Linked DNA regions of Homo sapiens: regions 1, 2, 3, 4, 5 and 6 are each linked to region 7. Evidence: promoter capture Hi-C in 16 types of primary human blood cells and fetal thymus (Javierre and others, 2016). All regions are on one chromosome and are shown on one strand. The core of a region is centred on a gene start or on the middle of the fragment in contact, and the rest is flanking DNA. Distances in the headings are between cores, read along the strand shown.

Evidence for each region. The method cuts DNA at HindIII sites, captures the fragments that hold promoters and counts their contacts. A CHiCAGO score of 5 or more calls a contact.
Region 1: a contact is called between a fragment that was not itself captured here and the fragment with the promoter of IGFBP3 in region 7, in 1 of 17 cell types (naive CD8 T cells). The highest score is 6.7, in naive CD8 T cells.
Region 2: a fragment that was not itself captured here is called in contact with the fragment with the promoter of IGFBP3 in region 7 in 7 of 17 cell types (M2 macrophages, M0 macrophages, M1 macrophages and 4 more); the score reaches 10.4 in M2 macrophages.
Region 3: a contact is called between a fragment that was not itself captured here and the fragment with the promoter of IGFBP3 in region 7, in 6 of 17 cell types (M1 macrophages, M0 macrophages, M2 macrophages and 3 more). The highest score is 14.8, in M1 macrophages.
Region 4: a contact is called between a fragment that was not itself captured here and the fragment with the promoter of IGFBP3 in region 7, in 9 of 17 cell types (M0 macrophages, M1 macrophages, M2 macrophages and 6 more). The highest score is 20.1, in M0 macrophages.
Region 5: a fragment that was not itself captured here is called in contact with the fragment with the promoter of IGFBP3 in region 7 in 12 of 17 cell types (total B cells, M0 macrophages, M2 macrophages and 9 more); the score reaches 88.4 in total B cells.
Region 6: a contact is called between a fragment that was not itself captured here and the fragment with the promoter of IGFBP3 in region 7, in 6 of 17 cell types (M1 macrophages, M2 macrophages, monocytes and 3 more). The highest score is 10.2, in M1 macrophages.

Annotation. Positions count from the first base shown.
Region 1 is chr7:47,828,276-47,831,986 of GRCh38, reverse strand. It overlaps PKD1L1 (polycystin 1 like 1, transient receptor potential channel interacting), which reads left to right. Exons shown (of 57, transcript NM_138295.5): 42 at 635-770; 43 at 1,863-1,947; 44 at 2,386-2,562. Among named protein-coding and RNA genes, the nearest start is that of PKD1L1-AS1, 35 kb to the right of the region's middle. The HindIII fragment of the contact is 5,313 bases long and covers 1-3,711 here.
Region 2 is chr7:47,121,328-47,124,580 of GRCh38, reverse strand. No RefSeq gene overlaps it. Among named protein-coding and RNA genes, the nearest start is that of SNORD151, 340 kb to the left of the region's middle. RefSeq lists an enhancer at 1,665-2,164. The HindIII fragment of the contact is 5,266 bases long and covers 1-3,253 here.
Region 3 is chr7:47,139,186-47,142,709 of GRCh38, reverse strand. No RefSeq gene overlaps it. Among named protein-coding and RNA genes, the nearest start is that of SNORD151, 320 kb to the left of the region's middle. The HindIII fragment of the contact is 2,973 bases long and covers 1-2,844 here.
Region 4 is chr7:47,199,889-47,203,516 of GRCh38, reverse strand. No RefSeq gene overlaps it. Among named protein-coding and RNA genes, the nearest start is that of SNORD151, 260 kb to the left of the region's middle. The HindIII fragment of the contact is 901 bases long and covers 1,629-2,529 here.
Region 5 is chr7:47,180,886-47,184,346 of GRCh38, reverse strand. No RefSeq gene overlaps it. Among named protein-coding and RNA genes, the nearest start is that of SNORD151, 280 kb to the left of the region's middle. The HindIII fragment of the contact is 1,284 bases long and covers 1,013-2,296 here.
Region 6 is chr7:47,155,227-47,158,889 of GRCh38, reverse strand. No RefSeq gene overlaps it. Among named protein-coding and RNA genes, the nearest start is that of SNORD151, 310 kb to the left of the region's middle. The HindIII fragment of the contact is 5,824 bases long and covers 1-3,663 here.
Region 7 is chr7:45,919,717-45,923,323 of GRCh38, reverse strand. It overlaps IGFBP3 (insulin like growth factor binding protein 3), which reads left to right and starts at 2,052. Exons shown (of 5, transcript NM_000598.5): 1 at 2,052-2,586. The coding sequence starts at 2,184. RefSeq lists enhancers at 1,088-1,668, 1,669-2,249. The HindIII fragment of the contact is 8,094 bases long and covers 1-3,607 here.

The DNA.
Region 1 (3,711 bases), core at 1,000-3,499, 1.9 Mb before region 7:
CAACCTTCTGGTCCTGTATCTGGCCCTGGGGAAATCACACAGCAGAGAGGGAAGGTTGAAAACTGCAGGGGACCAGTCACAGCCCTGTCCCTTGTGGTGTGTGGGACTTGATCCAAATCAGGGCAGACCCTCAGATTCCAGGTCAGCCTGCTTAGTTGTTTGGGGTCTGAAATGGAAACTGACCTCTCTGCCTCTGATGTTGGGGACCCATAGGTCCCTATGCAGGTCAGAAGAGGAGATCCCCAAAAGCCTTCTGAGGGCACAGCAAGGCAGGAGTTGCTGCTCACCACCCCCATCCTGACCCCAGACCCTTAGGTGAGCACCAATGTCCCAGCTCAGCAGTCGGGCAGGAGTTCCCCTGTTCTCAGCCTGTGCGTTCTATTCAGGACCTCAAGGGATTGGAGGAGGCCTGTGGCTAGGAAGGCCCTCTGCTTCACTCAGTCTGCTGATTCAGATCTTAATGCCACCTGGAAACACCCCCAACCCCGAACACACTCAAAAATCACATTTAACCAAATGCCTGGGCACCCTACGACCCAGCCTAGTTGACACCTAAGATTCACCACCACACTCCGCGTGGATGGAGATGCCGAGGTCTCTTAAGCTGCCTTGTCTCTGTCCTACTCTTCCGCAGCACCCAGCAGTGGTTTGGAGGGACTAATGCCCCAGTGGTCAAGGGCCCTTCAGCCTTGGTGGAGCTCTGCAGTGTGGGCCATTTGTGGGACCGCTTCTTTGGCCTGCAGTTTGGGGACAGGATTTCTAGCCTACAGGTGAGCTGTAGAGTTTTTCAAACATCCTCAGGTCCTCAGATGGAAAGTCTCGCATTTGTAAACAAATCCCTGCATTTCTGGGAACTCATCAGATGCAGGCTCCAGATGTCACTATTGCTATTTTCTCCCTCATTTCTCCCTCCCATCTCCTGGGGTAAATAAAATCCTATGCAGATCCCAAAGGGTGGCTTGGCCTGGCCAGCTCTGCCATGGCAGCAGGCCTGGATGGGGTCCAGATATTAAACAAGAAGCTGCAGGACGCCCACCCAAGGAAGGAAGGAACCCAGCTGCAGAGCTCCTGAGAGGAGCAGGTTCCCAGCCAGGAACTCTGGCTAGAATATACTGTTCATGGTCTCCCATCATTTGAAAAAGCGTATGCCTTCGGGACAGGGATTATGATGCATGTGTCACAGATTCTGATCCTGTCACTCCGGCACATGGTACCTCTCTGGCTCCTGTACAGCTTGGACTCGCCATCGGAGACCCCAGGGTCACTCAGTGTGGTTCATAAACCACAAAGAGTAGCCTCAAAGCCAAGGCCCTTTCTTCCCGTCTCTCCCCTCTCCTCAACTGTAGATGTTGAATCACTCTGTGAGGATGGGCAGGTACTTAGACCTCTCTTGTGCCTCAGTTTGCTCATCTGTAAAATAGGAACATCAGAGAGCTTAATTCTTAGGGCTTGGGGAGGAGCAGCTGAAATATGAAAGCAGTCCTGTTAGCATCATGCCTGCCCCTGCGGAGCACCCGCCAGCATCCAGCTTTGTTGTTGTTGCTGCTATTATTATTATTATACCCCAACCCATTTTCCTCCCCCTTCCCCTCTCTGTGCTCTGTTTCATCTGCCTGTTGGGTTTTCCTTTCTCTTTCCCACTAGGCAGCTTCAGGGAGGTCGATGTCCTCTTGGCAGACAAGGGTTCCCCTCCGATGAGCAGAAAGACACTGCCCATGTCCAGCACCACCCCCACAGCAGGCTTCCTGCCACGGCGAGGCCATAGGCCCTCTCAGGCAGTGTCCCTGTGCTTAGGCAGCAATGACTGCTGGGTGGCCTGCTCCCTTAGAGGGGGCTGACCACTGCACTTTCCCTGGGGGCAGGTTTGGCCAGGAGCAATGTGTGCAGTGGCTGCACCTGCTGTCCCTCTCCGTGGTCTGCTGTATTTTCATCACCCAGCCACTTATGGTAAGAAACACCCTCCATGGTAGAAGTGCCTTCCATCAGCAGGGGACCTAGATGGGAAGGGGAAATAGAGGCTTCATTTTGGTTGTGTATGACTTTTCTTTATACCCTGATTTCAGCTGTGGTTGGAGAGAACCAGGAGCCAGGCTCTGTGCTAAGCTGCACATGGGCCTGTTCTTTAATCCTCATAAAAATCTTTGAGGAGGGTACCACTTTAACCCACGTTTTTTATTTGAGGAAATTGAACTCAGAGAATTTAGGTCTCTTGGGCGGGGCCATGCCTGGTGAGTAGTTGGGCTGGGAATCCAAGGCAGTGACTACTGGTGTCTTTAAAACTGGGAGATGGAGTCCTGTTCATGATTAGGGGACGGGAGGACAGCTCTGTGTGGAATGAACACAGACATAGGGCGGCTCTCTGCGCTGTCATGTTTTTCCTTCCAGGTATGCCTCATGGCCTTGGGTTTTGCTTGGAAAAGAAGAGCTGACAACCACTTTTTTACTGAGTCTTTATGTGAGGCTACCAGGGATCTGGACTCTGAATTGGCAGAACGTTCCTGGACTCGCCTCCCCTTCTCTTCAAGCTGCAGTATTCCTGACTGTGCAGGCGAGGTTGAAAAAGTAAAAAAAATTACCTATGCAGTGCAAATTGAGATTTAAAAAACTACTTTATATTCTATCATGCATATCTGAATGTAGGCTTTGAATTCAGATTGGGTTGCATCTTTGGAGACCCATGGGATGTCTTAATTTCTTATGCTTCTTTGCACATACCTGTATGATAGATGAACACATAGGACTTATTTTTTTTTAACTCCAATCCTAAAGAAGTTAGAGCATCAAGAAAATGAGCATATTTTAAAATACTGAAGCAAGTAAGAACTCTAATTCTTGGCCATGATTTTGGAGAACTTTTAGTCCATTTGCCCTTCAGTGAACCCACAGAAAATGTACTCCTCCCCATCCTTCCTCTCTCCCTGCCTTCATCCCTTTGTCCCTTCCTCCCTCCCTTTCTTCCTTCTTTTATTCAGTTTTGCCTGTTGTATGTGTAGCATTCTGTTGGGCAGTGTGAATGATATGAAGGAAGAGAGAGGTCTGCTGGCCACCGCAAAGACATTCACAGGCTCATTGACTAAGCACCTGAAATGCATGTGCAATTCTGTACTCTTGTAATAACCACAAGTCACTTACGACCAAGGACCCAATCCCAGTGCATTGAGAGTCAGACCCCGGTCTGGGCCTCTCCTCATCTCCACCCTCCTCCTCGCAAAGGATCCTAATAAACTCCATGTCTGAGGACCTGTCTGAGGCCTCTCAGCCCTGCCTAAAACCAAGGCTGCTGCTGCTGAAGATGGGTGGTGCACACAGGCTATGTACTAGTCATTATGCTGTTTTACATCTACACTGTATTTACATTTATCGGATCATTTGTTCCTTATAACACCTGATGAATTAGGCAGCATCCCTGCACCCCATTTAAAGATGAGGTGAAGCAATTAGACCCAGGCTACACTGCAGTAAAGGGGAGTCTGGGGCCCAAACCTGGCCCACCTTGCCCTTTCCTCCTGCACCCCCCGCCCTGCAGCACCTTAGCTCTTGAGAAGCAACGTTGCCCTTGTTCCCTCATACCTGTTGGATCTCAGCTTTCCTTTCTGCTTGGAAGGCTCTCCTTCCTCTTCTCCCCTCGTACAGCTGTGCCCTGCTGTGCTGCCAGTTTGTTCATTTTCTTTCTATCATCCCAACCTCAGAGGTGAGGCTCCTTCTGATGAA
Region 2 (3,253 bases), core at 722-3,221, 1.2 Mb before region 7:
GTGTGTGTGTGTGTGTGTGTGTGTGTCTGTGTATAAGGGTGGGAGCAATTCCTTGATTCTTTCAGTTCATTCACTTCTCAGCTAAAAAACTTCTGTTTCTAGTTTTGTATTTTTGTATCCTCAGGTGAGGTTTCTGCAAGTCAAACCCTTATGGCTGAATTTTATGTTTGAATACATTTTTCCATTGGGCACAGCTAGTAGCTGCATCTTGATGTCTACTTTCATTGAGAATCATAACTGTATTAGAAGAAGGAAGACATTTTTATTTTTGTAGCAAACAATTAGAAAAGGTGAAGATAATATATATATTTAAAGTGGATGTATTTATATATATTTAAAGTGGATACCATTTAAATATTTGGATACTTATATTTATATTTAAATAAGTGGATACCATTATATATATTTAAAGTGGATACCATCAGGCTCATACACGTAGGAGGCTCTCAATAAACTTGATGGTGGTTTAACCAAGTCTAAAGTTCTTGGTACACAACTGCACAAGTGAGACTCAGAACAGTGAAGTAGGTCCCCTAAATTGACTTAGTCAGCCAGTCCCAGTGCTAGCTAGTGTAAAAATCCAGGACATCCAAATCCAAGGCTTTCAATACCTCATGTCTTTATATTATTTATTTATTCATAGGTATTTATTAAACACCTTTTATGTGCCAGGCATTATGCTTATTCATAATTTTTTGGCATTGATCCAGGCCGCAATCAGAATGAAAGCACAATAAAAAGCCACAACTTAATTATCTTATTTTTCAGGGGCCTAGTCTTACATTCATTACATCCCCACATAATCTCCAAGAGAGATTTTTTTGCTGGCATTCTTCACCATCATTCAACTGTAGCAGTGTGAAGGCAGCTATTAGTGCACAGGTTTCTGTGGTTATTTGACATAAAATAAATGTCAGCTTTGTAATCTTAGTCCTTATGAAACAAGTGTTAACTAAATGGAGTGAGAACAACTCACATTTAAATTGCTTCTATTGTCCAATCCTTCAAAGGTAAAATGAACTCCTCCAAGTCACCATCAATGTTCTCATCAATAAGCAGACACTCCAACTGGGTATGCAGGGAAGATCTCTGGGTCTTTTAAAGACAAAATAACACACACTAATGAGTTAGAGAAACATATTGGTTTGTGACTCAAAAATGTGATTTGTTATCAGAAGAAATAACAACTAAAGCTGAGTTACTACCTATTCTGCAAACACGATTGCTCCCAGGAGTGACTTTCTGAAGTTCCAAGAATTAGAGGACTGCTTATCAAATTAAATAAAAATTAAATATGTTTACAATTTGTTTTCATGCATCCCAGAGTCTTTTTACTATTCTGTTGGCCTTTCTTTCTCTTCCCATGTCCATATAAGAGTTCGAAAACTCTACTGCAGATTTCAGCTAGCAATTGTATTTTAATCAAGTGTGAGAACAATTCTCTAACTTGCTACAGTTCAGAATCTTTTTCTACCAACCAAATGAAGAATGAGTTTGCTCAGGCTGTTACAGGGCATCATGAGTGGCCCCAAGTGATTCAAAGACCACCTTTGAATTGGTGTTGGTGTTTGGGCCTCTGGCTTCATCCCTTACCATGGGTGACCCTCAACCAGCCATTGGTGTGGCCAAGTCCTCAGCATCCTTGCTTCCGAATGGGAACGGATGCCTCTTGGGTTGTAGGAGAGTCTGTTAACTGTCAGCACTCTGAGTGAGCTGGGCCCTGCCATCACGTCTCTCCTCCCCACTGTGCCTGCCCCCCAGGGCCTCCACAATAGGCCCCTTGGTGCCTGCAGGGCCATCACTGAACTCAGCAGAGCACAGACACAGAGTTTATGCTTCATGAGGGATGCAGGAAGGTCAGTGGCACTGAGGAAAGTTAGGGTCACAAAATGTTTTAAATGGACTGCAGCCATAGCCAAGACCTGACCAGAAGGCTGTGGCCAGGCTTCTTGCTCCCGATGCAGCCCCTTCAGGTGAGGCAGAGGACGCAGTGGCTCAACACTGGGCCAGAGCCCAGAAACACAAGCCTTATTTTGGCTCTACTGGTCCCCATTGCATTTTTTTTCTCCTGTCCTCTGGCCTTCACAGCTGGGGTCACGAAGGCCCGAAGTGGCCATGGCGAGGTCGGTCCTGTGTTAATCCTGCCTTGCAGGAGTGGAGGGTTTCTCAACCTCAGCAGCAGGGACATTTGGGGCAGGGTAACTTTACTGTGGGAGGCTGCCCTGTGCATTGTAGGCTGTTAACAGCATCCCTGAGAAACACTCCCTGGATACCAGTAGCACTTCCCCAGTTGTGATGACCAAGAATGTCTCTGGTCATTGCCAGGTGTCTGCTGGGATTGGCCCTGGGTCAGAATCACGTTAGGCATGATGAACGTGACTAGTCCTGTACTGCCTCCTGTGCAAATCTGCTTTCGCACATTTGCCTGCTACTCCAGCCACATTAAACTTCCACTGGTCTCCAAATGCAGGGGCCATGGCACACCGCTGGCTCTTTACGCCTGCGTTTTCTTCCACAGGACTTTCCTATCTTCCTGGTCTGTTTGGAAAACTCATTCTGACTTGATAAGCCCCTCAAGGGTGTCTCCACAAACATTCCCCTGATCAGCTCAAACAGAATCAGTGGCTTCTTCCCTTGTATAATATTCCATTAGCCCACAGTGATCCATCATCCCGCAAGGGAAGCCTGCCATGGAGTTCCTGTCCCAATGGAAACAGAGGTCCTATGCCATTTCACTAGAGTGTGTTGTGTCCTATGAGAGGAGGGTTCCAGTGCTCCAGGACCCTAACAGTGAGGGTCTCTCTATGTCAGGGACCAGTGCAGGCCTCCTAAGGCAATGACAGCCCAGGGAGATGTGAAAGTGAACAGTGGTTGTTCAAAAGAACAGCAAGCATGGAAACACTGTGCTCTTGCAGCAGGGACTCATTTAAATCGTTCACATAGAAAATCCAAGTTTACTGAGCACCAAATATATTCCAGATTCCAAGTGCAGTGTGCATGGGAAGCAAGCCCTAACCTTGACCCTGAGGCGCTCATACGAAATGAGACCTGCCTATGCCTTGCTGTGTCCTTTGTCTGCCCTGGCTTGTTTCACTGCTTGGGGATGGGGGCTCCGGTCATAGCCATGCTGGCCATATGGAAACAGTGCCAAGGATGGTCTGTGTTTCTGGTTTCACTCACCAGAGGCTTGAGGGTCCCTTTAGCATGTGATTTTCATCTCTGGGAGGGAAATCTGGGCTGGCAAACAATTTAG
Region 3 (3,524 bases), core at 109-2,608, 1.2 Mb before region 7:
AGCAACATGAGAAAAACCTATAATAAGAACACTTGAACTTAAAAAATGTGTAGTGCATTTGAGGCAAAAAGAATATTTTTGTGACAACACTAACCAGACAGTGTTTCAGAGGGTGGGAGGAGTCCCCCTTATCACTATCCACCATGCAGTTTGGACGCTGAGGGCTTTGCTCCTGTGGCACTGTTGGTTGCCTTTCTAATTTTCTCACTACTCTTTGCTAAAGAACTTTCATTTTGTGAGAGACAGGAACACGCCCAGCCCCCAGGCAATGCATCATGATTGATTTGGACTCATTATGACTAGAAATGACAGCCTCATTCCTCTTTGTCAGATTCTTAATTTTAGAGCTTTCTTGATGCTCAACAAGATCTTTTGGTTCTTCTCATTCCAAGCACCTGGTTCATGACTGGTACATCTGTGTCATACTTTTATCAAAACAAGATATTGTTCTTCACGCTATTAAGCAATCTTTCCTTAAATTTCTGCCTGTCTCATCATGATCACTGCTTATTATCTCCTTAATTTTCTTTTTCTGTATCTTTGTTATATTTTACGTTTTCCATGTCATTTTGTTTCATACATATATCTTTATCTTATATTTAGTAATATATATTTTATGTATATATTTGAAATAGTATCTAGTAGAATATATATCTAATAAAATATATTCTGCCATGGGATTTGTTTGAATCCAATGAGATTCTGTAACCTTTTATACATAGAACTTACAGCAATTATTTGACATAGTGGATAAAATCAATCACATTTTTGGGAAATAACTTTCTTGCAAAGGACAACAAACAAAATGCGTTAAATATATATTTTAGATCTTATTAAAAATCCAAGATCAAAAATTGTTTGATGTATTGAATTTTGTTTTGGGGCAGGGCAAAGTAATGGAGTGTATGTTTGCCTCTTGCCTGAAACAAAACAAATTAGCAAAACATATAAAACAATATGTTTTAATTAAGACACTGAATATCAGGCAGTAAAGGACCATCATCTCTGAGAGACAGGAATAGAACAAGGTGAGCCCTATAATTTCTCTAGCTTACTGCCTTGAGAGGGTTTCCAGTATCAGGGGCAGGAAGAGGGAACCCAGACAGCCTGGTGGAGTTCTGAGTTGAAGAGATGAAGCTGAGAGTCAATGGTAACAAAGTGGCTAGAATTTGCTCAACTTGGTTCTTGAGAGAAGAAAGGGCACACAGAAAGAACTCTGGCAACCTGCAGATGGCATACAATGTGTTCACATAAATCCCTGATTGCAGAAAACTACCCAAGGCCAAGGAGAGAAGCATCTGGAAGGATGAAAAGCAAAAGTACCCAATACTCACACTTGGCTGCAAAGAATGTCTATTCCATCAGACAGCCTGGAAAGGCGTGAGATTCATTAAGAATTAGGTAGAGTACACAGGAAGGCTTTGCCTCAATAGAGGGAAATATTTAGCCCTAAATTGGGCACTATTCTGGTCACAACTAATGAATATTAAACCCCAGAGTTTCAAACTGTTTCCACATGATTTAACTGATCAAAGCTCAAGAATATGTATAGGAATACAGAAATATCCAGTTCCCAACAAAGCAAAATTCACAGTATATGAAATTCAATAAAAATTACAAGGCATGCAAATAAGCAAGAAAATATGACCTGTAGCGAGGAAATAAACAGAGCCTCAGAGAACTGTGGGACAACTGCAAGTAGCCAAATATACGTGTGATTGAAGTGCCTCAAGGAGAGGACAGAGGGGAGGAGCTTAAAAATATTGAATAGTCAAGAATTTTCCAAGTTTGATAGAAACTATAAATCCACACATTTAAGAAGCTAAATAACTTTAAGTATAAGAAAAATGAAGAAAACAAAACTAAGGTATATCATAACCAATTTGCTCAAAACCAGTGATAAAGGAAAAATAATACACACGATGCACCTTTTTCACTAGCTGCTAGTAAAAGCTAGGAAAAACATCTTGGAAAAAAGGTGCATTATGTTCAGACCAGCAGTGATAAGGATGACAGCAGATTTCTTATTGGAAACCATGTAAGTAAGAAGACAGCACGGTAACATTTTTAAAGTACAACAACAACAAAAGTCCAACATGCCAAGTGAGAATCCTATACTTGGTGAAAATATGTCAAAAATGAAGCTAACTAAAGACTTTTTCAGACATAGAAAAGCAGAAAGTATCTATTGCCAGCAGACACATAAGAAATGTTAAAGAAAATCCTTCAGGCAGGAGGAATATTCTACCAGATGGAAATACGGATCTATGAAATTAATAAAAAACTATTGAAATTGGAATTACATGAATAAATACATGGAATTTTCCACTTATTACTTAAGTCTCTTTGAAATATGATTGACAGTTTTCCAGAAGTAAAATTGCTGAATTATATAGTGATTCTATTTATAGAATTCTATTTTTTTGAGGTACCTCCATACTATTTTCCAAAATGGCTGTACTAATTTATATTTCCATGAATAGTGTGCAAGTTTCCCTTTTCTCTACATCCTCACCACCTCTTGTTAACTTTCATCTTTTTTATATTAGCCATTCTATGGGGTGATTTTTCACTGTGGTTTTAATTTGCATTTCCCTGGTGATTAGAGATGTTGAGCTTCTTTCATAAATCTTTTGGCCATTTGTATCTTTTCTTTTGAGAAGAGTCTGTTTAGATCCTTTGTCTGTTCTTTAAAAAGGTGTTCTATTTTCTTGCTATCGAGTTGTTTGAGTTTCTCATATATGTTGGATATTAGTCCCTTGTTAGATGTATGATTTACAAATATTTTCTCCCAGTCCATGGGTTGTCTCTTCAATCTGTTTTTTCTTTTGCTGTGAAAAAGCTTTTTAGTTTTATGCAATCTGATTTCTCTGTTTTGGCTTTTGTTGTCTGTGCTTTTGCAATACTTTCCAAGAAATTATTGCCAATACCATTGTTGTGGAGATTTTCCCCTATGTTTTCTTCTAGTAGTTTTAGAGTTTCCAGTGTTATGTTTAAGTCTTTTATCCATTTTGAGTTGATTTTTGTATATGGTGTGAGATAAGAGTCCAATTTTGTTCTTCCACATGTGAATACTCAGTTTTCCCAACATAATTTGTTAAAACACTGTTCTTTCTCCATTATGTGCTCTTTGTACACTTGTAAAAAATCAATTGATTGTAAATACTTCTGGTCTTTCTATTCTATTCTATTGGTTGATGTGTCTGTTTTTATGCAGTACTATGCTGTTTTGATTACAATAGGTTTATATTTTGAAATCAGGGAATGTGATGCCTCTAGTTTTATTGTTTTTGCTCAAGATTGCTTTGGCTATTTGAGTTCCATATCAGTTTTAGAATATTTTTCATTTCTGTAAAAATAACATTGAAATTTTGATAGGAATTGTGTTAAATATGTAGCTTGCTGTGGACAGTATGCACATTTTCACAATATTAATGTTTTCAACTCATGAACATGGAATATGTTTTCATGTATTTGTGTCTTCTTCAATTCTTTCATAAATGTTTTATAATTTTTTTTATACA
Region 4 (3,628 bases), core at 830-3,329, 1.3 Mb before region 7:
TGTCAGTCACAAGACAAATAATTTTACTACATAGGGAAAATAATTCAATAATGTTTTCAAGGTAAGTGTAATATTTCAGTTTTGCTTTCCCTCAGTCACTTTTTTTTCCATTACCATAGAAATCTTTATTATAATAATTCTTGAATTCAGCTCTAAAAAATGTAATATGCAAGTTACATGAACAATTATAGCTAAAAATATATACAGCAATTAAAAGTTTTTTAAAAGCTCATGAACATATTATGAATTTTAAATATGGAGATATGTTTTAATTCAATATTCTATTTTTGTAGAATTTTGGACAAAATGTCCTGCTAAGTTCAAGTGAGCCAAAACAAACTACAAGGGGTACTTCTTATATTGAAGAAGGTATGTTTTAGTTTAAACATTTTTCTCTGATCTTTGTTCCCAGTGATTTTTTTTCTTGTATGCCTATTCTCAGATGCTAACGTATTATGTAATTGTTAAATCACCATTTAGAACCTGAACTCTCCTCACCCCTGCACATCCAGGTCATTGTGTTTCTTTATTTTCTATTTTTTTTATTATACTTTAAGTTTTAGGTACATGTGCACAACGTGCAGGTTAGTTACATATGTATACATGTGCCATGTAGGTGCTATACCTAATGTTAAATGACGAGTTGATGGGTGCAGCACACCCTCAGTCACTTTTTATGTGGCTGAATGAAATGTGAAATATATGTCCCCTCACCAAAACAAAAAGAGCTCATTGAATATGATGAAAAGAGAGAGCAGTTCCATGGGAACAGAAGCCAAATAGGCTGAGTGAAAAGCAGGGAAATGGAAAAACTCACTTAAAGGCACTGAGCAGCAGAGCTTGGAGGACTCCGAGAGCCCTTGCTGAAGCACATGGACAGGGCTGGGCGATGTGGCAGCAGCAGGCTGCTGGCCTGTGAGTGTGCTGTCGATGTCACAGCCAGCTCCAGGTATGTGGCAGCCACCACTGGAATCTCATCCCGAGCCCTGCCAGATGATGAGCTGTTGATATTGCTGATTTACAACACTCAAAGCCAAAGTCATCCAAATTTTTATGTCATGGCATAACATAAGCTCGAGATGGCTTTGTGTTTTTAATTCCCACCTACTGCCACTCAGCTTTCCAAAGCTGATGCTCGCCATGGGGACAAGCTCAGGCATGCATATTCTCTGGCATTACTCAATAGGCCTTGGCCCCAAATCTTTGTACAGTCATCTGGTTTTAACTCTGTGGACCACTGGAGCTGTAGGCACCTCTGAGGTCAGGCAACAGTGAAGTCTGCAGCCTCCATGGCTGAAACCAGCCCTTCTGAGCATCCACTCTGCCCCGTGCAACATTAGGACTCTAGATATCAACACTATGACTTTGAGAAAAAGGCAAACTCAAGACAGCAAAGAGAAAAATCATGCCTCCCAAAGGTGCGGAAATAACTAGTCCTGCTCTTCATAGTCCAGTGCATCAAAGAAAGTATGCCATCCTCCTTAACAAAGGATATGTGTGCAGCTTCTAACAAACCAACCAAAGGGTTGAGAAGAGAGAGGGGAATGATCCAAACAGATGAATTTTAAAAGATGGTCTCTGAATAGGGGGAGATTGTGATTGTGAGTATGCCATAGGAACTCAAAGCTTCAGTCCCATCTTGTTTGCATCAAGTCACCACTGCCTAGTAATTAACACTCTAGCCATCCTTCCCTTTGACCTTGCCTCACCATCTGGAGAGTCTCCTCAGGTAGATAAGTAGCTAGCTAGCTACATAGTATTATTTGATAGGTCATTGTTATGGTTTAAATGTTTTTGTCCTCTCCAAAATTGTTGGAAGCAATGACTGGATCTTCAGCAGATAAGAAACCTGCTGGCACCTTGATCTTGGACTCTCCAGCTTCTAGAACTGTGAGAAATAAATTTTTGTTCTTTATAAATTCCCCACTCTCAGGTATTCTGTTATAGCAGCACGAACTGACTAAAACAAAAATTGGTACCAGGGAATTGGGGTGTTGCTACAACAAAAACCTAAAACTGTGGAAATGGCTTTGGGACTGGATGATGGCTGGCACTGGAACAGGTTTGAAGGGAATGCAGGAAAAAGCCCAGATTGCCAAGAGTGGTGCATTCACAGTGATGGTGGTGAAGGCTTGGAAGAAAAGGAGAGCTGTAGGAAAACCTCATTCTTCTTAGAGATTACTTAAGTGCTTGGCCAGAATGCTGATAGAAACATGGACATTGAAGACTATTCTGCTGAGGTCTCAGATGAAAGTGAGAGACAGGTATGAGAAACTGGAGGAAAGGCCATTCTTGTTACAAAGAACTTGACTGACTTCTGTCATTGTCCTGGGACTTTGTAGAATGCACAACTTAAGAGCGATAAACTAGGATATTTGGTGGAAGAAATTTCTTCTAGCAAAGTGTTCAGGATACTGTATGGCTTCTCTTAACTGCTTATAGTAAAACGAAAGAAGAGAGAAATGATTTAAAGATGGAATTTGTAATTAAAAGTAAAACAGAACCTAAAGATTTTGAAAATTCTAAGCTTGTCTATTTAAAGAATAAATATGTATGCTTAGAAGAGAAAACCAAGGGTATGGCCAAATGAACATTTGATAAGGAAATTAACATGGATAGAAGGGACCAGATGCTATTCATCAAGACAATGGATGATGACCCCAAAGCCATTTCGGATATATTTGGGGTTCCCATGCTCATTGCAGGCCCAGAGTTCTAGGGCCTTGCGGGCAGAACAGTTTCTGGGGAGAAACCAGGATACCCATAGGACCTCAGGGTTTGTGGCCCAAGGCTGTCCCAAGTCTCTGTTCTCCACATTCTGGTGTAATGCTCCTTGGCCACCCCTGCTATGGCTTAGAGGGGACCTACATGCAGCTGGGGCCACTGCTACAGAAGACACAGGGAGTGAGATTTAATGTTGTTTATGTGGTGCTAATTTTTCAGGCAAGCAGAATGCAAGAGCTGTGGAGGCATAGCTACCTCCACCTAGATTTTCAAGAATGCCTTGAGGCCAAGGCATATCTGCCACAGCGGTGGGGCTGTTACAGAGAACCCACCCTATGGGAATGCTTAGTGAAGTTGTGGGGACAGGACCACCCCCAGAGACCTCATGGCTATAGAAACACCAGTGTGCAGCACCAGCCTGGGAGGGCTGTAGGCACCTGGACTCCCACCTGAGAGAACTGTGGTATGAGCAAAAACAAAAATCTCTAGCAGAGCCATGAGGGTGGGGGCTGCCAGGAATCTTGAGGGCAAATCTCTGCCCCAGTATGTCTGGAAGGTGATACATGGACTCAAAGAAAATTATTCTCTAGCCTTAAGATTTAATGTTTGCTCTGTTGTGTTTCGGACTTGTCATTTCTTTCTTCTTATTTCTCTCTTTTGAAATGAAAATGTTCTAATGTAAGTATTTCTTGTAAAAGTTTTGTATGAAAATGTTTATAGATGCATTATTTATAATAGCCCCAATCCGGAAACAGCCCAAATGTCTATCACTAGGAGAATGAATAAGTAAATTGCGGTATACTTGTGGTAAACACTTTTTATCTATGTAACAACATGGATGCCTGTCCCACTATTGTATTTTGGAAATACATATCTAATTTGATTTTACAGGTTCACAGCTGGG
Region 5 (3,461 bases), core at 405-2,904, 1.3 Mb before region 7:
GAGTCTGTATATGCTCTGTTCTGTTAAATTTTGTCAAATTGATTTTCCAGGTGGTTGGGCCACGTTACCTTCCAGTTGGAAGTGTAGGGGGGTTTCCACTGCTCCACATCCTCACCAATGCTTGGTTTCTTATTTTTTATATTTTGCCAGTTTGATGGTTCAAAGGGGCACTGGATCGTGGTTCTAGTTTACATTTCTCTGGTACTGACGAGCCCCTTGGGGATAACTGGAGAGACGCTGAGTGACAGCGGTGGTCAGAACTGGATTCTGTAGGACGGGGTGGGGAGGAGTAGAAGGCTGCAGTGGCGGGGGGTGGGGCAGACGTGGGTCTGGCGCACATTCTTTCTGCTTTTTTCTCATTTGTATTGGTTCCAAGTTCAGTCTCAGAAGAATCACATCAATTCTGACTTGTAATTCTAGAGATCTCTATTTTCCAGAAATTTTCTATGAGAATCTTTGAAGCTTGAGGGCTGTGATTTTTCTCCAGGATGAAGGTTAAACCCTGTAAATGTGCAGAACGTTCTCCTAACAACCCATTCCAGTAAATGGTGCATGACAGGTGTGTAGGGCACTGTGGGTGAGGCTGAAGCATCACCCCAGATGCAGGGGTACATTCCTAGGAGCACAGACATGTGAACATGCTTCACCCTCCACATCTGACCCTGGGACTCACCCACTTCTCTCTACTCCCACTGCTCCCCTGGTCAGATGGCCCATTAGAAGGCTCAGGGAATGGTACCTTACTTTCATATAAAGCTGCCTTTACTGAATTTGCATATATTAATGATAGTATTCCAGCTTGACTGAAGCTGGGTGTGAGGTTTGTGTCTCATGGAATTGTTCTGGGAACTTCCCAGAAGGCATGTGAACTCTCTGACAACATTATAGGTACTCAATAAAGAGTAGCTAGTATCAATTTGCCATGTCTAATTGAACAAATACTATGACTAATTAACATGCTAAATGCAGGAGGTATGGTGATAAATAAAACAGTGCCTTGTCCCCTGAAGCTTACATTCTACTAGGGGAGACAGCTGCACACGTGAAACATATGAAGACATAAGGCAGTTTCAGATAGTGGCCCTTCCAACAGGGAGAGCCAGGTGGCAGAGTGAAAAGGAGAGGAGACAGAGCATTCCAGACAGAGGCAGAAATACCTGCAAATGCTCCCTGGTTATGAGCTCTGTGTGTTCTGGCAACAAGAGAAGTCAGGCAACTGCAGTGATGGTGAAGGTTAAAGGTCATAGAGATGTGAGGCTCCACCAATCCCAGGTGTGGGCCAAGGCACAGAGAGGGGAATGCTCTCTGTTTGTGTCTTATATCAGCATTTTGTGATAGGGTTCAAAGTTATACTCTCTGAGGGCTCCCACTTCCAGATCTAACAATACGGTAGATGCTGGGGAGGCTTAGGGTCTTCCTTGCTCCAACCCAGCCTGGGCAGGAAGAAACTTTTGATGCCTGCCATGGGGCAACATTAGCAGCCTCAGCTCACTCCAGCTCTTGTCCGGTATCTCTACTTGCATCCCATCAGTGGGACCCCAAACAGCTCTGGGGACCCCAGGGTGCAGGAACGATGCCCATCATCATGCTGGGCACCATGCTGTGCTATGGAGACCCTGTTGTCACAGAAGTAAACCATTGCCCAGTGGAGGAGGCCTACCCCTTTCCTCTTCCTGTACCATCACTCAGTGTCTGTGGTCCCCACCCCTGGCCTGGGGTTCCAGTGAGTCGTGGGTAATACTGGGCACACATTTATGAGTGTTTCTTACATGTGAATGCCATATGTGCCCCAGTGGAAAAAAAAATAAGGACTCATTTAAGTTTTTTATTATTTGGATCTTTTCCTGACACCTGAATGATGAGCATTGGAATGTTCTCACCAAATTTGTGTTATATAAGGACTACTTCTTGAATGTAAGATTTCAAAGGATGCTGAATTAGAACTTTGGCAATAGCAAAATACTTTTTTCCAAACCATCCCAAACTCTCCATGGATGGTGGCTTGTTTCCAATTTGGAATGGCTTCAGTTGAAGATGTTTTTTGCATTGGTCTTTGTGTTCACAGTCCCTGGTGAAGGGGCTGATAGGCTTAAAAGCAGCATTTGGGGAGAGAGAGAGACACACACAGAAGGAGAGAGGTAGGAGGGAGAGAGGCAGAGCGAGCAAGAGAGAGCTGTACTGTGTTCTTTCTCAGAAAGTACCTGGCAGGCTGGAAGCAGCTCATGTGCCAATATTTGAAAACTATAAATAGAGTCCTTTGGGATTGGCTTACATGAATTGGTAGGAATGCCAAGCTTGGGAAGCTGCTGGGGCATGGTGGGGGGAGAGCAGGGAACAGTGTGCTATTCCTAGGACAGGTAACGCCTCTCTTTAGTGTAGTGGGGAGGGCCCTAGGCGGACTGCAGAGAGGAGGAGCTGAGGTACAGGTGCACTGTCAGGTCAGACATGTGAGCAAGTTGGTGAGAAAATTCATTTGTTCAGCTTCATACTTGGGAAGCAGCTGTAGCATTCAGGGTGGGAATTCTCAGTCCTGCTGCAGCTGCAGCACTCAGGGAAGGACTCTGGGGCCGGGCTGGGACAGGGCTGAGCAGGGAGCTGGATTGAGGGAAGTTTGAAATCACGGATCTAGCTAACTCTTCTAATTTGATGATGGGGAGACTGAGGCTTGGCCCTTTGTTCTTTTTCCTGCACCACTGCCAATCTTTCATGGGGTAAAGACCAATTTTAATGCAGTTCACTGAGATTCTTCTGCCCATCTGTGGAGGAGGTTGGTTGGGGGGCCTGGACACAGGAAGACTGCCGTCCTCAGCTCCCCTAAAAGCCACTGCAGCACGGGATGCCTGGACTGGCTTCTCTCCAGCTTCATCTCAGAAGATAAAATGTCAAACTCAGAGCTATCCCACGCTTGTCAAAATGCGTCGCAAAGAAAACTCACGGAGACAAGCACCTAGGCATTTGCTAGTGTTCAATACTGTTCATTTGGTCCCAGCCTTAAGCCACATCATCAGAGTGCTCTGGGGACCACATGGCTTTCTTTTATTGCAGTACTTTTCCTGAATGCTCCTAAAATGTAATGTACATTGCAGGGACATTCTAAGACAGAGCCCTGTAAAATGCATGACTTTGCTCGCCATGAGGACATCGGTGAGGCTGTCCTTGACTACGCTACATCATGATCTCTGTATAAAGACCTCAGGGAGAAACCTCTGACCTCTCTTTGACTTGCTGTGTTTCTCCTTGGGCAGCCAGCTAACCTTTATACTGCAGACTCAGGAAATGGTGCCACTGATTCCGTGTCCCTTGATGCACTGGTTATACAATCTCACAGCCCAATATGCCCCCTCTTCTCTGCAAGTGCATGGTTATACCTACTTGTGGTCTTCATCCTTTTTTTTCCTTCCTGGCCATTGTGAGTCTGTCCATCTATGTGAGAGCTCTGGGTTCATCCTGAGCCATCCTGG
Region 6 (3,663 bases), core at 93-2,592, 1.2 Mb before region 7:
GCAATACAGAGTTAGGTTTGTTTTCAATCCACTCTGACAATCTCAGTCTTTTAATTGGTGTATTAAAATCATTCTCAATCAAGTGATTATTGGTACAGTATAGTTGGATTAATATCTGCCATGTTTGTTACTGTTTTCTATTTATTGTGGTTTTTAAAACCTCTCCTCTTTTTCTGCTTTCTCTGGTTTTAATTGCACATTTTCTATGACTCTATTTTATCTCCTCTACCAGCATATCAAGTACACTGAAATTTTTTGTTGTTGTTGCCCAAAAGTGTATAATACACATTTTTAACTAACCTAAGTCCCCCTTCAAATAACACCATACTGATTCAGGCACAGGTGTCTTGTAACAGAATTCTTCCAATTCCTCCCTCCTGTTCCTTATAACATTGTTGTCACACATTTCATTTTTTCCATATACTATAAGAATCCAGTACATTGTTACTATGATTAAACAAATAGTTATTATTTATTTATTTATTTATTTTATTTTACTTTGAGTTCTGGGATACATGTGCAGAATGTGCAGGTTTGTTATATAGGTATATGTGTGCCATGGTGGTTTGCTGCACCTATCAACCTGTCATCTAGGTTTTTAGCCCCGCATGCATTAGGTATTTGTTCTAATGCTCTGCCTCCCCTTGCCCCCCACCCCCAAACAGGCCCCGGTGTGTGATGTTCCCCTCCCTGTGGCCATGTGTTCTCATTGTTCCACTCCCACTTATGAATGAGAACATGCGGTAACAAACAGTTATTTTTCAGATCAATTAAGAATGAGAAAAATGAAGTATTTTGTTTTACCCTCACTTATTCCTTCTATGATGAACTTTCTTTCTTAGGCAGATTCTAGTTTCTGGCCTGTACCATTATCTCACTGCCTAAAGAACCTCTTTGAACACTTCTTGCAGGGCAGGTCTGCTTGCCGTGAATTATCTCAGTTCTGGTTTGTCTGAGAAAGTCTTAATTTATCTGTCCTTTTTGAAGGATAATTTCGCCAACCTAAAATCCTATAGGTTGGTATTTTTTTTCTTTTCAACATTTTATTTTATTTTATTTTGAGATGGAGTTTCACTCTTGTCACCCAGGCTAGAGTGCAATGGTGCGATCTCAGCTCACTGCAACCTCCACCTCCCGGGTTCAAGTGATTCTCCTGCCTTAGCCTCCCAAGTAGCTGGGACTACAAGCATGTGCCACCACACCAGGCTAATTTTTGTATTTTTAGTAGAGACAGGGTTTCACCACATTGGCCAGGCTGGTCTTGAACTCCTGACCTCAGGAGATCTTCATGCCTTGGCCTGCCAAAGTGCTGGGATTACAGGCGTGAGCCACTGTGCCCAGCCCTTTTCAACATTTTAAATATTTCACTTTGTCTTTTTTCTTTCATAGCTTCTAAAAAGTCTTCTGAAATTCTTACTTGTATTCCTCTATAAGTAAAACGTTCTGTGCCACCCCGAATTTTATTTCAAGATTTTCCTCTTTGTCTTTGATTTTCTAAAGTTTGAATATGGGATGATATTTACCTTGCTCATTGTTCTCTGAGTTTCCTAGATCAGTGGTTTGGTCCCTGTCATTAATTTTGGAAATTCTCAGCTATTGTTACTTTAAATTTTCTTCTGATCCATTTTCTTTTATCTTTCCTTCTGGTATTTCAATTATGCATATCTTATATCTGTAGAAATTGTCCTACAATTCTTGAATATTCTGGTTTTTTTTTTTTACTTTTTTTCTCTTTGCATTTCAGCTTAGGAAGTTTCTATTTGGCTGTCTTTAAAATCACTGATTCTTTTCTTTTAATTAAATAAGAAAAGGTTTATTGACAGACACTATCTGACATATAGTAACTGCTCAATGACTAGCTGCTAAATACTTTAATCATATTTTTAATCGCTATATATAGTATTCTGCCATATTAACTTACAACATTTACGTATCCATTACCAACACAAAAAATATTTTTCTTTTAAAAAATTTCTGCGATAAAAATAGTGATTTAATGAACAGCTTTGAGCCTCTTGGGCAAACAAAGGAGTTTTTCTAGGGCATATACATAGAAGTAGATTTGTTGAGTTATGTGCATACAGATTTCAATTAGACTAGACACTATTAAGTTCATTCCAGCATGGGATGCCAATTTCCACCCCAGCCTGTAGGATATCAAGACAGGTCTTGATTTTCTGCAGCCTCAACATTTTAAAAAATTGTGATTAGAAAAAAAACTACCACATAATGTAAAATTTCCACCTAGACCATTTTTAAGGGTACAAGTCGGTGTTGTTAATGATATTTACATTGTGCAACAAATATCCAGAACTTTTTCATCATTCCAAACTGAAATGCTGTACCCACTAAACAACAACATGCCTTTCCCCCTTTCCTCCAGTCCCTGGTGGCCACCGTTCTACTTTGTGCTTTTATTAATCTGAGTACTTTAGATACCTCATATAAATGAGATCATACACTAGTCCTCTTTTGGTGGCTAGAAGCATTTCTTTCTAGTTCTTTCTTCAAGTTTTCATCTCTGCTTCCATTAGTTATCTGTTACATATTGCCTCCTTTTTCTATGAGAGTTCTTAACATATTAATTATAGTTATTTTAAATATGCTGTCTGATAGTTTTTAAATCCGTATGATGACTAATATAAAGTATCAACTTCACTGGATTGAAGGATGCAAAGTATTGTTCCTGGGTGTGTCTATGAGGGTGTTGCCAAAGGAGATTAACATTTGAGTCAGTGGACTGGGAGAGGCAGACCCACCCTCAATCTGGGTGGGCGCCGTCTAATCAGATACCAGCGTGGCTAAAGCAGGCAGAAGAAGGTGGAAGGAGTGAACTTGCTGAGTCTTCCAGCCTTCATCTCTTTCCTGTGCTGGATGCTTCCTGCCTCCAAACATCTGACTCCAAGTTCCTCGGCTTTTGGACTCTTGGACTTACACTGTGGTTTGCCAGGGGCTCCTGGGCCTTCACCCACAGACTGAAGGCTGCACTGTCGGTTTCCTTGCTTTTGAGGTTTTGGGACTTGCACTGTCTTCCTTGCTCCTCAGCTTGCAGATGGCCTATTGCAGTACTTCACCTTGTGATCATGTGAGTCAATACTCCTTAATTAACTCCCCTTCATATATACATCTATTCTATTAGTTTTGTTCCTCTAGAGAACCCTGACGAATACACTCTGTATTACTTAAGCCTAGTTCTAATGTTTGCTTTGTCTCATAAGAAGTGTTTTTTCATGCCTTTATCATGCTTTGTCATTTTTGTTGTTGTTAGAAGGTAAATCAGAAGTGAGGTCAACAAGATGAATCCCACTGTTATGTTGCTAGAGCCCTTCTGGTGTGGGGTTAAGATATGCCCCTGGCATTTTAAATTTGGTAAAACCCTAGAAACTGAAGATAAAAAAGAGAAGACCAGCTCTGCATTGGTGAAGTCGAATGGAAAAATGAAGAAGCACCAGACAAGTGTCTGTATGGGGGATTGGGAGCCAAAATCTGCCCAGCACCTCCGGTCCTAATGCTGTGCTCTGCCCTTTGATTTTTCTAAAGCTCATGCTCATGAACTCAAATAGTAAAATAATTGTGAATTGAGAGAACTGCTTCTCCGATATCCTGATATTTTTTTAAAAGTGTCTGTTTATGTTGTAGATATGAATTTACATATATATAAAT
Region 7 (3,607 bases), core at 803-3,302:
AAATTTTTTAATCCTTTCCAAAAAGACATTGTTTCTGATCTTCCCCTGTCCACTCTCCAGATGATAAAGCTGAATAAAAAGTGCTACACTAACCAGTGGTCAGTCCAGGCTCTGCTGCAACATTGCACTAACCAGAACTGCAGACCTGGGACCTCAAGAATTGCATTTGATGCCGAACCCAGCTCTAATTTCAGAGTCAAGGTCTCTGCGAGTATTTAAGGAACGGATGTAAACCTGGGGGATTCGTTTTGTTTCCTTCAATTTTCCAATGAAATCAGAGATCCTGTTCTTGGGTGTCAACGCAGATACTAGAAGGAGGTGATACAAGAGAAAGGAAACAGCAAGCGACGATTATGGCACGGTTTCCTGTAAACAAGGTTGAGTGTAGCCACAGCCTGAGCACTGTGGGAGAAGAGCTCATAAGAAAATGACGGTGCTGGGCCTTCGTCACCCCGGGGCACTCCATTGTTCTTGTCTTTGGTCTCTTTTTATTTGTAGAGGTCCAATTATTTATTTATTTAGTACAAGAGGGAACGAAATTGATCTTTCCATTCTAAAAGGAGAGTATATATGTATAAAAGGAAGCTGTATAGATATGGGGGAAGAGGTGGACAGGGGGAAAAGGGGAGAGGACGAGAGAGAGAAAGGGAGGGAGAGGGACAAGGAGAGACACTGGGCGAGAGATCGATTAGGAGAGACAGAAATGATGAATGAAGATTAACTTCACCCAAGGCTTCGTGCTGGAGGGGAATGGAGGAGCTCCTGATTTGCTATTACTACTCCAAACTGCAAAGGGCTCCTTCAAGTCACCTATCCACCTCCTAAGGCAAGCGTCCAATTTCAACAGCGTTCAGGAAAGTCTCCTCCCGCGGAGGTCTCACCGCTTCCCACTCCACCCCCACAAACTCTTTGGAAAAGTGCCTTGAAAAATTTAATCCTCAATCCAATCCTGGACCACCAGCGTCCTCTGTTGGTCACCGAAGGGAGGGGGTGCGCAGACAAAACTGAAGAAACTCGAGTGCCAGAGAAGGCCGACAGGAGTTACAGCGACCTCAGCGCGCAATTGCGCCCCCGAACTTTACTGAAAAGTGTTTAGATTGCAGAGATAAGCTAGAATCCCAACGCATCGAGAATACAGTAATACGAAGTCGCCTTCAAAAAATGACAATGAAAATTGCCTATTAAAGGACTATTTGGTTAATTACGTTTCAGCAGTGCCCAGTTTATTGTCTTTATTATTCTTTTGTCATGGGTGTAAACTCCATTTGAAAACATAATCAGGGAGAATACCCAAGACAAGAAGAACAGTTGTCATTTAAAATATTTGAAAAGCCCTGCCTTAAGGACGCATTCGCTTGCCGGTCCACTCTTAATTGGAGACTTGCGGTGTAGCAACACGTGAGAGTCTTCTTGCGTTGAGAAGTAAGCCTGGAAAGGGGCGAAGGCCCCGGGCGCATCTTCAGATGCGTATTTGTGGGCCCCTGGGGATATAAACAGCCCAGCGGGTGTAAATTAAACCCCGCAGTGCCTTGGCTCCCTGAGACCCAAATGTAAGTCAGAAATGTCCCAAGACTTCGCCTGCCAACGGAATTAAATTTTAGAAAGCTCCACGAGGTACACACGAATGCGGAGCGCTGTATGCCAGTTTCCCCGACACCGGCTCGCCGCAGGGAGACCTCACCCCGAGAGCGGAAGGGGTAAGGGCGGCGGGGTCAAGGAGATCGGGGGTGCTGAGTTGGCCAGGAGTGACTGGGGTGACCGGGGGTGCTGAGGTGGCCTGGAGTGCCGGGGTGGCCGGGCACACCTTGGTTCTTGTAGACGACAAGGTGACCCGGGCTCCGGGCGTGCGCACGAGGAGCAGGTGCCCGGGCGAGTCTCGAGCTGCACGCCCCCGAGCTCGGCCCCGGCTGCTCAGGGCGAAGCACGGGCCCCCGCAGCCGTGCCTGCGCCGACCCGCCCCCCTCCCAACCCCCACTCCTGGGCGCGCCGTTCCGGGGCGTGTCCTGGGCCACCCCGGCTTCTATATAGCGGCCGGCGCGCCCGGGCCGCCCAGATGCGAGCACTGCGGCTGGGCGCTGAGGATCAGCCGCTTCCTGCCTGGATTCCACAGCTTCGCGCCGTGTACTGTCGCCCCATCCCTGCGCGCCCAGCCTGCCAAGCAGCGTGCCCCGGTTGCAGGCGTCATGCAGCGGGCGCGACCCACGCTCTGGGCCGCTGCGCTGACTCTGCTGGTGCTGCTCCGCGGGCCGCCGGTGGCGCGGGCTGGCGCGAGCTCGGCGGGCTTGGGTCCCGTGGTGCGCTGCGAGCCGTGCGACGCGCGTGCACTGGCCCAGTGCGCGCCTCCGCCCGCCGTGTGCGCGGAGCTGGTGCGCGAGCCGGGCTGCGGCTGCTGCCTGACGTGCGCACTGAGCGAGGGCCAGCCGTGCGGCATCTACACCGAGCGCTGTGGCTCCGGCCTTCGCTGCCAGCCGTCGCCCGACGAGGCGCGACCGCTGCAGGCGCTGCTGGACGGCCGCGGGCTCTGCGTCAACGCTAGTGCCGTCAGCCGCCTGCGCGCCTACCTGCTGCCAGCGCCGCCAGCTCCAGGTGAGCCGCCCGCGCCAGGTGCGCTGCGTGCAGCACCCGGCGCACTGGCGCCGAAGGGCCTGGGGGTTGCTGGGTGCCGCTGCGGGAGACTCCGCTTTTCTTCTCACTGGAGATAATATGTGGGGAAACTGAAGGCGCTCCGGGAAAGGTGAAGGCGGTCGCCGGAGGGACCCTCCCCAGCCGGCCCTCTACTTGCTCGATTCTCTAAGTGCAGAGTACTTGTAAATTGCAAAGCGCTTTCAGTGAAAATGGGTTAAAGGTTTCCGGAGCTGAGGGGAGCGGTACCGATGTTTAGCTGTTGGAAAGATCCTGGACACAGGAGATTCTCCTCGCCCCGCACGGGGGTGCACACGGACTGCAATCCCAGGGATGCTTGGGGATGGGGGGGATATAGGCGGATTTGGACCAAGGAAGGTGGGCAGGCACGTTGTAGGAAATAGTACCTCTCTTTTAAAATACTGACTTTGCACAGCCTTTTGGTTTGCAAAGCAATGTCTAGTCCCGGTATGTCCAAAAACAAGTAAAGTGGATTCGGGTTTTGATATCTTCTGCGGTTGGAAAACCTGAAGCTGAAAAAGAAGTAACTTCTTAAGGTTACCCAGCGGCCACAACAGAGTGTAGGTTTGAACTCCGCGTGCCACTTTCAGTACCATACCATTCTTACAACTCGGGCCACCCCTGCACCTGCGCCGACCTCAAACAAACTTCCAGGTGCGTGGTGGGTGCGGGCAATGTGGACTAAGTCAATTTCAATGACACGGAAGGGAATTGGAATCAGTCCTAGGGCTGTCTCCCTTCTTAATCTGAAATGGGGGGGGGAATGAGATGTTGTTAAGGGGAGCCCCAGAAGAGGAAAAATGCAAACATTTGGCAGAGTTACCCTCTTGGCTTAGCCACTATCAGTATCAGGCAGACAGCGACTCTGGTAAGGGCATCACATTGTTCCCTTAAAAAAAGGAGCGGGGGTTGTTTAAATGGATTTGGCAGCTGTTCTTTCAAGCATTCTTAGCCAGCCTCACCT